2 separate regions of the Homo sapiens genome follow, and region 2 is linked to region 1. Evidence: promoter capture Hi-C in human tissues and cell types (Jung and others, 2019). All regions are on one chromosome and are shown on one strand. The core of a region is centred on a gene start or on the middle of the fragment in contact, and the rest is flanking DNA. Distances in the headings are between cores, read along the strand shown. Region 1 holds the start of SAMD9L (sterile alpha motif domain containing 9 like). Region 2 overlaps CDK6 (cyclin dependent kinase 6).

Region 1 (2,700 bases), core at 123-2,622:
TTGCTGGGAAGCTGCTCTTCTGGCAAGGGGCTTACACTTTCCACAGACACAGTCTGCTCGGGTGAGATGCAATACCTTCTTTTAGCTGGTGTCCTCTTTCAGAAATTTAACCAGCCAGTCTCTCTCTGGAAATGCTAAAGATGGAAAAAACAGACTCCAGATTTTTTCTTTCGTTTTAGCCAGTACAATTTTAAGAGCATCTGGATGTATGCTGTTGGAACTAAGTAACAATCAAAATGACCATGATTAGTGTGGACAAATTTTGTGATTGCCTTGACTTAAGTCTTGGCTTTCTAGGGGCCCTCAGTGTCCTGTTTTGAAACAATTGTGAAGACAAATATTATCTTTAGCAACGTTGGTTATTGACAAAGGAGTTGCAGGTTGGCATCCTCAACACTTCAGTTTTCTCTCTTTGATGCTCAGCAAGAATTTCCAAGTCAGCAAACTCTCAGGGACAAGCCCACCCCATCTTTGAGAGACCCTCAGCAACACCGCTGATATCCATGCCCTAGGGAGGTGTTCTGCTCTGCAGGATTCTTAGAACTGATGTAGGGGAAACACACTTCAGAATCTGGCTGTAGCCCAGGAGAGCTACCCACACCCTCCTTGCATAGTCTGGCAGACAGAAGCCACACAAGCAAGTTAGTTTCGTTTTCCTGAAGAACACTTTGCATTTTTTTTCTTAGTTTTCAACCAGATTGCTGGATAAGATGTATGTGAATGAAATACTTTAATAGAATAATATTTAGCCTCTGCAGAGTATTAACTTTGATAAAATGTAAAAGTTTTAATAACATCTTACGTTATGAAGACAGAATTTTGTGTAATTACACAAGATCACACGTTCCTTTAGAATCTTCAGTGCTTAAATTCCTGACCCTGTTTGCATCGTTTCTCTATCCTCTTTTCCAAAGCCTGCCTGCCACAATCAGAAACCCTCCCACTATCCTAATTACACTTAATGGTATGTTTCTTTTTAGAAGAGCACTTACAAAGTTATTATCAGTTAAATATACTGACATGTATTTAATCCATTGATTTTTCTAATTACTCTAGTATTTTTATAAGTAATCGTTTATGTACAAACATATATTTATATAAAAAGTACAGCTGAAGTTTTAAAAAATAGCTGTCGCCTCAAAAGCATAACAAATAAAGGTTTAATGATTCAGTTTACTTACCAGGATTTTCCTGAAAATGTCATCGTTTTATATCAGAAACTTGAAACAGGCCATTTGAACTTTTGCTGTCTCATTCCTCTTCTGATGGCTAGGAGACATGAAGTGTAAGGATCCTTTTTTAAAAACTGAGGCATTAAATTGTGAAGTCTTCTGTTCTCCCAGTACTCTGACTTTCTGAGGGTGTGTCAGAGTGCCAGTTGAGAAGCAGGAGGAAGTTGAAGTATAGACAGTTTCAGTTTTGCTTTAGAACATTCTTTTTTCTTGAGTTTAGAAGGATCTGAAATGTTTTTTAATCAATAACATTACCAAAAATATCAATAAATTTGAATCACTGCTTAGAAACTGTTTACCAGGCAGATTTTTAAGTTATAAGAGTTAAGGAATAAGGAAACAACAAACAAACAAACAAAAAAACCCAGTGACCCAAAAAACTACCTACAGGACAAAGAGAATGGAAATACCAGGGAGAAAATTAATATGTCAGTGCAATCTAAGTTCCTGTTACTGGTTGAATTGTGTCCCCCAAACATTCATATGTTAAAGTCCTAATCCTCACTCCCTCCAAATGTAACTGTATTTGGAGATAAGGTCTTTCAGGAGATAATTAAGTTAAAATGAGGTCATTAGAGTGTCTGTAATTGAATCTGACTGTGTCCTTGTAAGAAGACGAGATTGGGACACAGACACATACAGAGGGAAGACCATGTGAAGACACAAAGAAAAGATGGCCATCTACAAGCCAAGGAGAGAGACATCAGAAGAAACCAACCCTGATAATGTCAGAGACATTCGAACCAGAGTGACTCCATTTTGAATGAGGGCTACGAAAATGAGGCTGAGACTTGCTGGGCTGCCTTCTCAGAAAGGTAGGCATTCCTAGCCTCTAGATGTTTATGATTAAGGGAGCAAATTAATAATATTTACTAAGCAGACCGTGACTTGGGAGTGTCCAGATATCCCAATATCTGGAGAACAGAGGCATTCTTAATTTTGCTTTAAAGAAAATAATATTGATTCTTGCAAAATACACTAATTAAGAAAATTAATTCTTTATCAGAAACCCTTGTAGCAAAACACATCTCTCCATATATACAAGCATTGTACCTAGGGTGGATGTGTTCCTCCTCTTACTTTCGGGAACGTCCTACTCTGTCTGTGGAGTAGCTGTCCTTTTACCACTGTACTTTCTTAATAAACTTGCTTTTACTTTGCACTGTGGACTCGCCCTGAATTCTTTCTTGCATGAGCTCCAAGAACCCTCTCTAGGGGTCTGGATTGGAACCCTGGTCCTGTAACATTTCTGGCAACCATGAGGGACCGATACTGAAGAACCTCCCCACCAACCCAAAGGAAATGGACTATAGCACTGATTGGATGACTTTGGGTAAGTGGTGGGGTACCCGGGTAAAGAATGGGATTGGGTTAGAGGCCCAACTTAGGGGAATTAGAGTCTCTCCGAAGACAGGGTGAATTAGAGACCCCTGTTAATAAAAGGCAAAGATGCTTGACTGACCTCGGA
Region 2 (2,731 bases), core at 51-2,550, 500 kb before region 1:
GGGATATATATTAATATCCTCATTTTACAATTGAGGAAACTGAGGTTGAGGGATGGTTAATGATAACTCATCATCATTGAGCTAAGAAGTGATAGAGACAACTAGATGCTCCAAAGCTGGCTCTCATGACCACTTCACTACATCGCATCGTTTGGCTATGACTACGGAACTGCTAGTGGACTTGAGACTCAGGCTGAAAAAAGAATTTTTTTTTTTTTTTTTGAGACAGGGTCTACCTCTGTCACCAAAGCTGGAATACAGTTGTGTGATCACAGCTCAATGCAGCCTTGACCTCCTGAGCTCAGGTGATCCTCCCACTTCAGCCTCCAAGGTAGCTGGGACTATAGGCATGTACCACCACACCTGACTAATTTTTTGTAGAGACAGGGTTTGGCCATGTTGCCCAGGATGGTCTCGAACTCCTGGACTCAAGTGATCTGCTTGCCTTGGCCTCCCAAAGTGTTGGGATTACAGGCTTGAGCCACCACGCCCGGCCAAATCCCGGGTTTTAAAAAATACAAATGAACTAATGGGAATAACACTGGTAAGCCTGATGTTGAGACCAAGTAGTATTCTTCAGTTGGTTCTAAGAAAAGAAAGAGGTGATCCAGAGGAGTCTGTAAGTCCATGAAGAACTTGGAACAGGTTTGCCATTATAGCACGCTTCAGCAGCTCATTCACTCATTCAGCACATTTGGAGTCTGTGATGTGCTTATCACTATGCTGAGTGTAGGGAACACAGAAATAAGACTGACGTGGTCCCTGCCCTTGTGAGGCTTACAGTTTAGGGAGAAAGAAAATCATTAAATAAGTGGTAAGTGTTATGAAGAAAATAAGATATGCTGGTGGAGAATAATAGAAAAAGCCTCTTTAAGGAGGTGACATTTAACCTAAAGGATGAAACAGAGGAGGCAGGCCTGCTGAGGTCTATTCACTTTCTTTTCATCTTTGGTTGTAGCTAGAATTTTTGAGTACTCTTCAAGGGAGCTTTATGACTTGGGTTCTGTTAAACAAGTCAACCACGATTTTTAATCCATGTGCTTTATCACGAATGGTTTCCTTCACCCTGTTCAAAACATCACAAATATGATATAAATGGGACACTTACTATTCAGTCTAAAACTGTTCTCATTTATTTACTTATTAAATACAGAAAAATCCCTTTAGAATCAGGGATAAGAGGAAAGGTCTTTGTGTTTCGCAAAGTTCATCCAAGTGTACTATTTGTTTCTTCCCCATGGAATTGTCATATCAGCTTTAGGAAAGATGATGAAAGAAAAGAAATGGGCCCAGAGGGACCTAAGGAAACCAGGCCAAACTTGCTGTTCACGTGGACCCTTACAGGGAGAATGGAAGGCAAAAGCAGAGAACTGGGTCCAATTTTCTTTCTCAGTGCTATCTGTGCAGTGGTCAGATGTGGCACTCACAACCAAAAGGCTTTTGAAACAGCACTGGTGAGTCCTGACCTACCTTCTTCAAATTTCTGAAAATGATACATTTTATTATCTCATGAGTAGAGATACTGGAGATTACTCTTAAGGCAGGAAGGGGAGACCTAGGGTCCCTTTCTTTGCTATAATTAACTGCATTTTCTCTGGGAGAACAGAAGCTCCCCATGGATATATGGGGTTGGGACAAGTGGCTATTTACAGCTAAGAAGGGAATATTTTTGAGGTTTAGAGAATTCAAATCACGATTACTATCTCATGTTCAAAGACTGAAATAAAAATGGCTGTGTACTCTCTTCATGGAGCAATTTGATGTTCTGAGGCCCTCTACTCCCTGGCTTCTGGAAATCTATTTTTCCCTCCATCACAATATTTCCTTTAACTACTGAATAATTAACCCTAGTGACTAACCTAGTCTCATAGGAAGAAGGCTTGTGAAATCTGCTCCTGATGCATGTAATAAGTGTAGAAGGACACATTAAGTAATGTGTACAGTCTGGGAAGGCCAAAATTCCTTTCCCAAGGCCTGGTCCACCCTGAAAAAGAGGAAGGAAAGCTCATACTTTAATTATTGGAGCAGGTATTCCACTGGTTCACACATTACCAGGACCTTAGAGGTTTCTTCTATCATACAGAAGGAACCTGGATCAGCACACTCGCCTACTCTTCTTTGTCTGCCAGTGGAACTCCACAACAACTGACCGAAGCTGTCACCACCCCAGGCTGCCAATGTGGGCCTCCAGATTGTGAGGCCACAGGGTCAGATATGGGGCCTGGCGCTGCACTGACAGTGCTGCATGTCCAAAGAGGCAAGCAGCCAGGCAGAGCCCTCTCTGTTACAGCTTGGCCACCTGTCTGAGAGGGAAGACAAATCCCATTTCATCGGGTTTGGCATGGAAAGCAAATTGTTCACCCCCACACGCAAAAGCTCTTGAGTGGCAGAAGGAAAAGTACACACCCCAGGTGCGAATATAAAAGCGGGTCTCTTTGGGATGAACCTTCTGGTTAATTTGGTTTGGAGTCTATGGTGTTTTCACTCAGCTCTCATCAGTTTTTAAGCCGTATTACAGCTCCCAGGCTTTTAGGATAATTCTCTTAATGAAGTAATGAAATGCCAAAGAAATGGCATCACAGGGCTTTGCCCTTTCCTGCTTTTTAAAGGCCATCAAAACCATCATTCCCTAACATACCCACACAGGAAAAAAGATGAGGCTTATCTTGTTTTTAAGCTATTGTGTTGCCAGCATTTCCATCGTACAAGAAAGATAAGTAAATGCTTGCAA

What was found. The method cuts DNA at HindIII sites, captures the fragments that hold promoters and counts their contacts. A contact is called where the count stands out against the background at its distance.
Region 2: a contact is called between a fragment that was not itself captured here and the fragment with the promoter of SAMD9L in region 1, in 1 of the 25 tissues and cell types used here (IMR-90 fibroblasts).

The regions. Positions count from the first base shown.
Region 1 is chr7:93,147,013-93,149,712 of GRCh38, forward strand. It overlaps SAMD9L (sterile alpha motif domain containing 9 like), which reads right to left and starts at 1,373. Exons shown (of 5, transcript NM_152703.5): 1 at 1,182-1,373; 2 at 1-134. RefSeq lists an enhancer at 573-672. The HindIII fragment of the contact is 15,444 bases long and covers 1-2,700 here.
Region 2 is chr7:92,642,691-92,645,421 of GRCh38, forward strand. The region is part of intron 5 of CDK6 (cyclin dependent kinase 6); the gene reads right to left. It overlaps LOC112268009 (a long non-coding RNA gene), which reads right to left. Exons shown (of 2, transcript XR_002956577.2): 1 at 1-2,731. Among named protein-coding and RNA genes, the nearest start is that of FAM133B, 54 kb to the left of the region's middle. The HindIII fragment of the contact is 3,085 bases long and covers 1-2,731 here.